Regions from separate parts of the Homo sapiens genome. Here all the other regions are linked to region 2. The links are contacts of gene promoters, found by promoter capture Hi-C in blood cells and fetal thymus (Javierre and others, 2016). All regions are on one chromosome and are shown on one strand. The core of a region is centred on a gene start or on the middle of the fragment in contact, and the rest is flanking DNA. Distances in the headings are between cores, read along the strand shown. Region 1 has its middle 9.9 kb from the start of KRT32. Region 2 holds the start of KRTAP4-5 (keratin associated protein 4-5). Region 3 overlaps LOC105371777 (a long non-coding RNA gene). Region 4 has its middle 10 kb from the start of KRT37.

Region 1 (2,955 bases), core at 291-2,790, 310 kb before region 2:
GTATCCATTTTAGACATGGAAATGGAGGCATAGAGTGGTCAAGTTAGTTGTTGAAGGTTACATGCAAGGACAAAGACTTAAACCCAAGTCTAGCTTCACAGCAGTGTTATTTTAACCATTCTAACTGCCAAATTCCTACCCAGAAAGAGTAAACACTAGTCAAGATTTGGAGAAAGTCTTAAGCTGAGAGGATCTGAAAGGCTTCTTGTAGCTGGTGGCGTTTGAAATAGGTCTTGGAGGTTGAATAGAAGGTCTACAGGGCACCAGATAGGCAAGTAAGTGTGTGGGGATCTTCAGGAGAGCAGGGGGTCATGCTTGGAAGGCCTCAAGGGGTCTTGCTGGCTGGAGCAGTGAGTTCCTGTGAGAGGCTGATGGGGATGAAGCTCAAATGGTAGAAAGGCATCAGAGAGTAGGGGGGCCTTGGGTACCCCACAAAAAGCCTGGATTCTGGACTCTATCCTGAAGGCAATGGGAGGGCTGCTGCAGGATTTGAGCCCAAAGATGACATGACTTGAGTGGCATCTTAGAAAGTATCACCAAGTAACACAGACAGGATAGCTAAGAGGAGGGGTTAGGCTGTGGAAGAAGCTAACAGGGTCTCAGGCAAGACAATGTCAGGGACCATGGAAAAATAAGGAATCAATCTAAGAGACACTGTGATGGACCTGACTTGGCAATGGATTGGCCATGGCAGGTAAAGAGGAGAGAGCTGGGGACAGGAATCTTGAACACCTTTCTGAACCTCACCCTCCAAACACACAGTTCTTCCTTAATGAGCTGAGATGATGTTTCTATTAAGTATCCTCCCTCTGGCCTTGCCAAGAAATGATGAAAAATGGATTGGATCCTGAAGCTGCCTGCAGGCTGCTCTCCAGACATGATCCTGCAGGCATCCCTGGCAGACAAGGTCATTAGCCTGACAGCAGGGACATGAACATACTGCTTAGCAAGCTGTGGTTCCTGGTTGATGGATGGGTAAAATTTCAAGGAGCTGAAATGCCAAGAGAGAGGGGTTCTGGCTAATTGAATTTTCTCATAACTGCGTGCAAACCAGCAATCTTTAATTTCAACCCCGGTGCAAAACTTTTCTGGAATGTGCTCAGCTTGATAAACAACACACAGAACAGACCAAAGCTTTGGTTCTATAATCCTAGACCTGTTCTGTCCAATATGGTAGTTCATAACGACATGTGGCTGCATATACTGAAACATTCGGTATATGAATGTTTCATATACTGAATTGCACTGAGTTGCACTCGTCACACGTGGCTAAGTGGTAGTAAATAAGACAACACAGACATGGACTATTTCCAACACTGCAGAAAGTTCTACTGGACAGAGCTGTCTTAGACTGTCAGAACTAGAAGGAGCCTTCCAGATGATCTGGCTCAGCTTTCCCAGTTTTACAGAAGAGTCATCTCAGACCCAGGGAGGTGGACAGATGTGCTCACAGACACAACCAACAGGTGGAAATTGAAGCCAAGGGTTTTGACGCCAAGCCTCTTAGGTCTCTCCAAGCACTTTATGCTTTCTCCAAGCACCCTAGGTTTATTATTATTTCAGGCTAATACATATTTCCCCTCTCCTTTTCTTTCATTTCCCAAAGAAGGGAGACATTTTCTCTGAGAAGCTGAAACTTCTTCCTGGGAATATAGTTCTCTTAAAAAGCATCGCTAGCAACTACCAGACTCAGCATCTCCTCTTTCTTTGAGCACTGGGCTCAGTAAGAGCAAAGACCTTGAGCTGCAGCCCAGAGCCTCAGCAGGAATGATTGCACAGGAGTTGTGGGCCAGAAGTCCTGGACCCTGGACCCCCTGGGGACTTCCAGAGTCTCCGTTTCCCCAGTGCATATTGTTTCAGTCCAACTCGGTCCCCATTCCCACACCTGTGTGTCTCTCCCACTTGCCAAGACCTGTCTGACTCCCAAGATGACTGTTAAAGCTTTTTATATGAAACCAAGCCCCACAGCCCAGGGCCAGGAGTACCCTCCTCTGCTAGAAGTGAGGCCCATCATCTTCTGTGTCTGGATGGTACTTCAAGCCAGAGGTGTCACGAGCTACCCTCCTGCCTAGCCTGTCTCTTATTTGATGGATGAAGAAGCCGTGGGCATAGACTTTGGGAGATATTTATCCCCCACCAGCACCGGAATCTCCTGGGAACTGGACTCAGTGTACCACTCATGGAGATTCTCAGAGGAACTCTCTCCTCATATCAAAGCATTTGCATCTAATTAACTCTTTATAGGGGAAGAGTTTATAGGGAAATGTAGGCAGGACCCTGGTCAAGTCATAAAACCTCTGTCATATTTGATGTTTTGGAGAAACCCTCACAGGTATCAGGGATCCTCTCTGAGCGGGATTGGAAAAGAAAAGGGTGTGCTTTTTAAAGACACCACTTTCCCCAAGGCTATTCAAGAGTTTGGGCCTCACCCCTGCTGCTCACTGCCCTAGTGCAAAGCACCCTCTTCTGGGGGTGAGAGTGAGGGCCCATGGGCAGAACTGCCATTCAAGGAAGACTGGCCAGAGGGCGACAGCTTCCCGAAAGATCCAGGAGTTGGGTTTGGCATCTGGGAGTTGGGGCTGTGTGTGGACTCTGAATTGCACTGACTGAATCTTTCTTCACCACTATATTAGGAAACCTTTTAGAGAGTGATCAAAAAAAGAATATGCCTCTTCCAGGGTATAACCAGGAAAATCATTAATAATAAAACAATATTCTTTTTGTATTTCATAATTTTTTTTTCTTTTGGAGAGAGAGTCTCGCCCCGTAGCCCAGGCTGGAGTGCAGTGGCATGATCTTGGCTCACTGCAACCTCTGCCTCCTGGGTTCAAGTGATTCTTGTGCCTCAGCCTCCTGAGTAGCTAGGACCACAGGCACATGCCACCATGCCTGGCTAATTTTTGTATTTTTAGTAGAAATGGGGTTTCACCATGTTGGCCAGGCTGGTCTCGAACT
Region 2 (2,873 bases), core at 155-2,654:
AACATGGATACATCTCAAGGAAATTATGCTAAGTGAAGTAAATCAGTCATAGAAAGACAGATAGCACATGATCTCACTCACATGATCGCACTCAAAAAAGTTGATATCATAGAAGTAGAGCAGAGAATGAAGATAATCAGAGGCTAGGGGTGGCTAGGGAGTCAGGGGCTTGAGGAGATACTGGTCAAAAGACATATAATTGTAGCTAGACAGGAAGAATCAGTTCAAGAGGTCTACTGTATAGCATAGTGACTATAGTTAATGATGATATATTGTACATACTGTATTCTTGAAAAATTCTAAGAATGGATATTAAGCGTTCTCACCACAAAAAAATGATAGGTATGAGAGGTAATGCATTTATTAGCTAGATTTAATCCTTCCACAATGTATATATACTTCAAAATATTATGTTGTATGTGGTAAATACAATATTATACGTCAATCTGAAAAATAACTAATTGTTTTTAATTTCACTGAGCTTGAGTTCTTTCTATATTAAGCACATCATGCAAGACACAGTAGTGGGGGTAGATAGATTCTTAAAAGTATTATACAGGTGTTACACAGTGTTAGGGAGCCTGGGTGAAGTACAGACAGCCTCTCCTGGGACTGTTTGTTACAGCTGTATGTAAATCTACAATTATCTCAAATTTCTTTTTTAAAAAGTGAAAACACACACCTGCATTATGTTAACAGACAGTTAGAGGCATTTAAAAAAAACAATGAGTTATGGAATAAAAATGGGACTATGTCTTCCGGAATCTAATAGATTAACTGGAGAGACATGACACAAAATATAGGAGAGCAAAGTATCAATTTAAGAAACTGACCCATTAGTAACACCAAGTATAAAAATTTAAGGATATGGAATATGACCCAAAATTTGAAACATTCAGGGAAACCCATTTCAATAGTGTAGAGGTCACCAAGGCCACATGCAGGTATTGCTATCCCTTTGCTTATTGCTTAATAATGACCCACAGACTAGGAATGCCACACTGAGCAGATGGGTTTTCCTCGCTATTGGTCACTAGAGGGAATGCATAACTGGAAGTGTGACTGACCAAATCCCATTTTGGTAGAGGGTACCTGAAGCGAGAGTAAGAAATGCAATTCCAAATGCAGGGAATCACATGAACAGCCCTCTGTGGAGGAAGAGGAAGAGAACGTGGTCTAGAAGATGCTACCGAGGTGTGAATCATGAGAGAAGGCAGACATGATAGATCTTATTACATCCGGACAAGAAAATTTTGTTTTCAACAAGTTTAAACCATTAAATGGGCAAACATTATTGTGTAATCTGATAATCACTTAGTTATTAAGTAAACAAAAACAAGGAAAATGTAGTACCAACAAGACAGCTGGGCAGTATATAAGAGGCTGTGGCCCAAGGACACTTCCAAACTTGAGAACCTCATTCTTCTAGAAATCCACCCAGAACCTCCACCCTCTGACACCATGGTCAGCTCCTGTTGTGGCTCTGTCAGCTCTGAGCAGAGCTGTGGCCTGGAGAACTGCTGCCGCCCCAGCTGCTGCCAGACCACCTGCTGCAGGACCACCTGCTGCCGCCCCAGCTGCTGCAAGCCCCAGTGCTGCCAGTCTGTGTGCTACCAGCCCACCTGCTGCCACCCTAGCTGCTGCATCTCCAGCTGCTGCCGCCCCTATTGCTGTGAATCCAGCTGCTGCCGCCCCTGCTGCTGCCAGACCACCTGCTGCAGGACCACCTGCTGCAGGACCACCTGCTGCTGCCCCAGCTGCTGTGTGTCCAGCTGCTGCAGACCCCAGTGCTGCCAGTCTGTGTGCTGCCAGCCCACTTGCTGCCGTCCCAGCTGCTGCATCTCCAGCTGCTGCCACCCCTCTTGCTGTGAATCCAGCTGCTGCCGCCCCTGCTGCTGCGTGCGTCCAGTCTGTGGCCGAGTCTCCTGCCACACCACTTGCTATCGCCCAACCTGTGTCATCTCCACCTGCCCCCGCCCCTTGTGCTGTGCCTCCTCTTGCTGCTAATGTCTCCTTGTGATATTTGTCATACTATGAATGTCTTCATTAGTCATTTAAAATGCACTGTAGCCAGCCAGTCACTGGAAAAATGAACACTTCCCTGCCAGTTTGTCTCATGTGGCATTCAGAGTGGACATTCAGCTCTTCTAGGAAATGACAGACAATCACATTCATTAAAATATGTTATGCCAGGCCCCAATGCAGTTATTTTTAGATGAGCAGTGTCTTCATTCGAAGGGGACACTAACTGTGATGATCTCATATAATATTGTTTTCATGTATTAATAAACAGCCACTTCCCTAATATTGAAATCTTCTGATTTGTTAGTGATCTCATTGTGCGTGTGTGTGTGTGTGTGTGTGTGTCTTTACCTGTCAGTTCACATCAAGGGCCATCTCTCTTCAAATGCAGGAGAGCATGTTTAAGAGCCTGGGCTCTTGATTCATGTTCCCTGCATTGGAATCACGACTCCCCTAGGTATTTGTTGCGTGGCATGGGGCAAGTTTTTTAACCTCCTCAGGCCTCAGTTTTCTTTCTCTGTGAATAGAGATAATGCATTACATTCTTTAAATGTTAAGAGACATAACCCATGTAATATACTCACCACAGGGCCTGGTACATAATGCAGTATAGGCTCTTAATGGATACAGTTTCTGGCCGAGCGTGGTGGCTCACATTTGCAATCCCAGCACTTTGGGAGGCTGAGTGGGTGGAACACTTGAGGCCAGGAATTCGAGACCAGTGTGGGCAACATAGTGAAATCCCTTCTCTACTGAAAGTACAAAAATTAGTTGGGCGTGTTGGTGCACACCTGTAGTCCCAGCTACTTGGGAGGCTGAAGCAGGTGAATCACTTGAACCCAGGAGGAGGA
Region 3 (2,731 bases), core at 145-2,644, 280 kb after region 2:
AGTGATACAAAATCAAAACATGGCCAGTGACCTCCTCAGACACTCTGTTCTCATCCACATGCATCAGGATCAGCCTCAGGTACCTGATTAGACCCCCAAGTAACAATTCCAACTTAAAGCATTAGTAGTGATTTTTATTTTTGAATTCTCTTTCAAACATCTCTGTTTTCTCTCCCCTAGGCTCATTTCCAAGATTCCTCTCATCAGGGTATTATTTTATCATCTTCCTGTCTCCTACCACTTTCAAAATTCTCCCCTGCTTTCAAGAACCATTGATCTCTGGAGCCCAGAAGTCAATCTCACTCATACCCCTTAGGGTCCTTGTTTAACCCTCATCTCAAAAGCACAATACATAAAATGTAGGCAACCCAAAATTCTCTCAGTCACTCACAGGATTTTATAATGTTATCCAAAGTGAAAGATGTTACAGATCAAGGGATCAGCGAGTTGCAGAAAATGACAGGTCTGTCTTACGGGAAAAAACTCAGGTAGAAAACCCTGCAAAGACCAGGACAGAAACCAACCTGACATGAAAAGATGAGGGTATGATTTACTCAATAAAAATCTAAAGACTTGTAAAAACCACATAACTAATTTTCTCTATTTTGAACATTTCCTAAACTCTACAAAAATGGAAGATATAATTCTTTTGAACAGTTTGCCCTGGCTATAATCATTTTCCTCTCTGCCTCAACTTATGCAATCACTCTGCCAACAAGCCCAAGATTGTTTATTGTTTTTTACATCACCACTGCCTTATACATTAATGTGGCTGTCAAAGAAAATTATTTTCACTTCTAAAACCTCTAAAGCAGAGTCTTGATTATTTAACTTAGCCTCCCACTTAAAAAAAAAAAAGCCACTGAAGAAGAAATATTTCCCTTTTCAACTTCTGAAGTTGCTCCCCATTCATAACTGAATTCAGAATAAATATTGGTCAAAGCATACCAGTAAATTAGGGCACAGTCATTTTCAAATGAAATGAATTTCAAATGACACATTCAAACACATTAAGACTTAACTTCTTTCAAATGAAATCATTCAAGGAGTGCAGTGATAAAGTTCAGCGAAACACTAGGCTAGGACTCAGGATAAAAAATAAATTAGATGTAGTACCTACCTAACAAGCTTAGTCTAGGATAATATGTTATATGTATAGAAACATAAACAAATAATATATAAACATAATTTTTAGAGATTGAGCAATATTATTTAAATTTTACCATAGGCATTAGAGTTGGAAAGTGTACCTTTCAGCACAAAATCAATTCCAAGTTCAAAAATTCAACTTAATCATATTCCCGTATTATGTGATCAAATCACTGAGGTACAATTTTGAACTTGGCACATTTCTTTTGACATTTTATTTGCTTCTGTTTTCATTTCTATGGCAGTAAAATGGAATCTCTCTGTCTTGGGGGACACTTGGGAGTGAATAATAGTTAACAACCATAACATCAAGTTCTTGTGTGGGGAGTGCAAGTTTAACTTGTGCTTTATAAGATCTCTGGAGATGTAGTTACAGGTCAAAGCTAAAATGAAAACCGCATTTGCCTGTGTGTTTACAGAATTTCATGTGTCATGTTGTTGCTTATAAGCCATGAAAAGTCATTCTCTAGGTCTCAGCCCATACACTGAGAAATTCAAGGAGAAAGCTTAAAAGAAAAGAAAAAAAAAAGAGCACCTCCTGTTAGATGTGCAGGGCAGAAGCCTAGTGTCAGGTGTCATAGCTAGGGGATGTCAGAGTATCCTCTGCCCTTTTTATTGTCACCGCCAGCAGCAAGGTTGTGGTATCTATAGAAGGCACTGCAGGCCCGAATCCTATCTCTGCCTCCTCCCAGCTGCATGGGCGTAAATAAATCACTTAACATCTGGACTCTCAGATTGCTCATCTGTAAAATAGGATAAAAGTACCACCTGAAGCTGGGCGCCTTGAGGTGGCTCATGCCCGTAATCCCAGTGCTTTGGGAGGCCAAGGCAGAAGGATCACTTGAGGCCTAAAGTTCAAGACCAGCTTACGCGATATAACAAGACTCCATCTCTACAAAAAAATTAAAAAAAAAAAAATAGCCAGTGTTGTGGTGCCCACCTGTAGTCCTAGCTACTTGGGAGGCTGAGGCAGGAGGATTGCTTAAGCTCAGGAGTTCAAGGTTTCAGAGAGCTATGATCACACCACTGCACTCCAGCCGGAGTGAGGGCAACCAAGCAAGACCTTGTTTCAAACAAACAAACAAATAAAACCAGTACCACTTTAAGAGCTTGCCGTGAAGGTTAAAAAATAATGTCTGTAATTCAGCTGGCCCAGTGTCCAAAAAGTAGTAAGTACATAATAACTGATAATTCAAACAAGACCAGCTCAGTCAAAATGCTTATAATATAGATTTAAGGAATCCTTGGTAAAAACCTCCATATGGGGCTAAAATCACTGGCATTTCCACTGACCAGATTTTCATTCTCTCAAGAAATTAAACAAATGGATCATGGCTTCTCTCAAGCTGAGACTGCCTTAGGTTGCTACATTCTTTCCACATCTATAGCAAATGTGTGATTTCTGCAAATCTCTTGCTTAAACCCCCTTTATTTAGAAATCCCACTTGCTTGCTCTTTGTGACGAGTTTAGGTTGGGGAGAAATATGTCCCTTCACATTTGTCCCTTATGTAATAATATAAAAGGAAGTTGTAATTGGATTTCACCACGGGTTCATCATTTGTGTCCCTGGGAAAGTGGCTT
Region 4 (3,141 bases), core at 558-3,057, 260 kb before region 2:
ATTCCAACTTGGTGAGTTCAGACAACATCCCTAACTGCTCTGAGCTTTGTTTTCTTTACTCTACAGTGGGATACTTGTAACTGCTTTGTAGTGTGGTTATAAGGATGAAAAGACACAACTATATGGGAAGCATATGGTATAATACTTGGTGGCACATAGTAGGTGGTCAAATAATAACACAGTAGGCCGCACATAGTAGGTGTCTATCTAATTTGCGTGTATAGATTTGTGAATGTGTGAGAGAGAATTAAGTAAAATATTGTATACCAAGTGCCAAGCTCGGTTCCCTTCACATAATAGATGTCAATAGATATTACTTCATGTGACCTTTATCTGTCCTTTATGAACATTGTTTTTCGCGTGGACTGGCCTCTTCCCCACAGGCATAAGCAACACAGTGTGCATATTTTCCTTTTTGTCTCTCCTCTCTCCTTCATCCTAGATATCCTCCTAAAACAAACCTCAGCAAAGAAGAGCAAACTAGGAAAACAAACAGAACTTGCTTATTACATTGGAGAAAACTGCATGCTAACTGATTTGAAGTACAGTAATCCAAACACTGGCTCCTCTTGAATTCATCAAATCCTGTTTTGTGACCTGGTGCTTCATTCACCTAGGATGAAGTCACCACAAAACTTGTCTATTGCTATGGAGCAGTGATTCCGTCTTCCAAGGGTGGTCCCCAGACCAGCAGCATCAGTGTCATGTGGGAACTTGTTAGAAATGCAGACTCCCTGGCCTGACCCCAGACCGCTTGAATCAGAAACTGTGGTGTGGGGCCTGAAAACCTGCATTTTTTGCAAGCCCTCTGGGTGATTCTGATGCTGGTTAAAGTTTGACCACTGGTGGAGATGTTATGAAAATAGAAGCAGACAATATTTTTAGCATAGAGGAGTACAAACTTCACTCTTACAGGCTTCAGAAATGCAATTTGGCTCTTTGGGTTGACATTTTGTGTCATTCAAACTCATTTCTTTGGGGGTCCAGTACTTGGGACAGGCCTGTTGTTGGCTGTTGCATTTCTGAAGTTGTACCCAGTTCTCTTGAGCCCACTTCTGCTTCTGAGTGTTTTCTTGTGTTCATCCTCTTTTTTTTTTTGTCACCCAGGCTGGAGCACAGTGGCTCGATCTCGGCTCACTGCAACCTCCACCTCCCAGGTTCAAGCAATTCTCCTGCCTCAACCTCCCGAGTATCTGGGACTACAGGCGTGTGCCACCACACCCAGCAAATTTTTGTATTTTTAGTAGAGATGGGGTTTCACCATGTTGGCCAGGATGGTCTCGATCCTTGATCTCGTGATCCGCTTGCCTCGGCTTCCCAAAGTGCTAGGATTACAGGCGCGAGCCACTGCGCCTGGCCTGTTCATCCTCTTTTTCTGGAAAACTGTCTCCCATCTTTCCTGCCCATCCAAGTCTTCCCAATCTTAAGTTCCAGACAAAGTGTCTTTGATGGCCCCTCTATATCTCTAAGCTCCAGTCACTTCTCCCTCCACTGAGTTACGTGACCTCTTTTTCTGCTCTCAGCTTTTTGAGGGTGGAAATTTCTCCTTTTCATCTCTGCATCCCCCATCCCCTTGAGAAGGGCTTTGGTATAACAGGAGTTCAGGAATATCAGACATTCAGAGTAAGTCACCAGGATAAGGCAAATCATGCCTTGGAGAATATCACCCACATCTGTATAGAGTTACAGAGAAGGGTCCCCATGCGTCTCATTGACTGTATATGGGACCAACTGGTGGCTGGCTGGTTGTCATGGCTGAATAGCCAGTGGCTCCAGCATGGTTTACACAAAAGTCCTGGGCAAGAAGGTTTTCTGGCCATCTACTGGCAGCCTTTCAATCTAAACTAATCAGAAATCCCACTGTACAGCCCGCACTTAAGAGTGATAGTAACTGTTACATCATGGAGCATGTCCAGGGAAACATTCCTGGGATGGCAAGGGGACTTTGAACCATGCTGAATGCAGAACCAGGAGTAAGAAATCTCACATCTGCCACAAAGAGCTGAGAATATGGCAGAATGATTAGATTTATCCTGTATGGGACACCATGGGGGAGAACTGGAGAGTAAATGAACTAAAGGGCCAACTCTCTGACTTACTTGCCAATGTATTACTAGCCTCCAGCTCAGCCCCTGGTTGGCACAGAGTAGGTACTTCATAGCTATTTGTTGAATGAATGAATGAATGACCCAACAAAAGCTATAGGGAGAGGTAACACGAAGGTAGATTTGTGAAGACTTTCTAAAAATTCTCTATAATGTGAGTGCCTTAAGGCTGAGCTAGCTGCTGTTAATTTTCTGGATACCAGTGTCTTGCACAAAGCCTGGGAAGCTGTTTGTAAGCCACAGGAACTGATGGTGTAAGCTCTCCTGGAAAATGGTGGACTAGATGACTAGTTGGAGGAAGGTCATCGAAGGGATTTAATGCAAATGGGTACTAGACTAGAGGACCCTGAAGTCCCTTTCGTCCTGGAGATGCTATGTTGTAGTGCCAGCTGAAACACACTTGCTGCTTCAAGGGCCCTCGTGGTGAATTCATTCATCTTAGGAATGCGGTCAAATTAGCATCTTTGTTAGCATAGACTGGAAGCTGGCTAGCTGCCCTTTTCCAGGGTGTATTGAACAAATGGCCACTGGCTTATTTGTTTTAGAAATAGGGGAGGCCATAAAGGTTCTGATGCTCTGAGTGTGTCTGAAGATTAAGGAAATTTAAATTTTGTTCTAGAGTCTCCCAAGCAATGGATAATCAAGGTAGATGCATTTCAAAGAAATGCAAAAATATTTCAAAAGATGAAAGATCAAAGTTCTTGAGTACGTATCTTCTGTAAACAAGGGTGATGAGGGACTCAGTCTGGTGAAAGGGTCAATAGAAAGGAAAGATGCCTGGGAAGGTGGGTGAGGCCCTGAGAACAGACACCATAAAGTGTTAATCACTGCCTGCCTTAATTAGCCTGTAGACTCCAGTACACAGAAGCATAATTTTATTTTCTGAAAATTGCAAACCATCAGTTTTATTATGAGCCGTTTTTTTCTCACTCCCAAAACGCTTATCTGTTTCACGTATGCACAGGGAAAGTCTTAATTGCCAACATCTGTTTTATAGGTTGTGTATTGATTTTAATTCAGTTCAAAATACTTAAAA

What was found. The method cuts DNA at HindIII sites, captures the fragments that hold promoters and counts their contacts. A CHiCAGO score of 5 or more calls a contact.
Region 1: a fragment that was not itself captured here is called in contact with the fragment with the promoter of KRTAP4-5 in region 2 in 2 of 17 cell types (total CD4 T cells and naive CD4 T cells); the score reaches 7.4 in total CD4 T cells.
Region 3: a contact is called between a fragment that was not itself captured here and the fragment with the promoter of KRTAP4-5 in region 2, in 1 of 17 cell types (endothelial precursors). The highest score is 6.2, in endothelial precursors.
Region 4: a contact is called between a fragment that was not itself captured here and the fragment with the promoter of KRTAP4-5 in region 2, in 4 of 17 cell types (total CD4 T cells, total CD8 T cells, naive CD8 T cells and 1 more). The highest score is 5.9, in total CD4 T cells.

What each region holds. Positions count from the first base shown.
Region 1 is chr17:41,455,968-41,458,922 of GRCh38, reverse strand. No RefSeq gene overlaps it. Among named protein-coding and RNA genes, the nearest start is that of KRT32, 9.9 kb to the left of the region's middle. The HindIII fragment of the contact is 807 bases long and covers 1,137-1,943 here.
Region 2 is chr17:41,148,356-41,151,228 of GRCh38, reverse strand. KRTAP4-5 (keratin associated protein 4-5) reads left to right here and starts at 1,404. Exons shown (of 1, transcript NM_033188.4): 1 at 1,404-2,305. The coding sequence starts at 1,462. The coding sequence ends at 2,007. The HindIII fragment of the contact is 5,677 bases long and covers 1-2,873 here.
Region 3 is chr17:40,870,638-40,873,368 of GRCh38, reverse strand. All of the region lies in intron 1 of LOC105371777 (a long non-coding RNA gene), which reads right to left. Among named protein-coding and RNA genes, the nearest start is that of KRT12, 4.8 kb to the right of the region's middle. The HindIII fragment of the contact is 527 bases long and covers 1,131-1,657 here.
Region 4 is chr17:41,412,937-41,416,077 of GRCh38, reverse strand. No RefSeq gene overlaps it. Among named protein-coding and RNA genes, the nearest start is that of KRT37, 10 kb to the left of the region's middle. The HindIII fragment of the contact is 7,068 bases long and covers 1-3,141 here.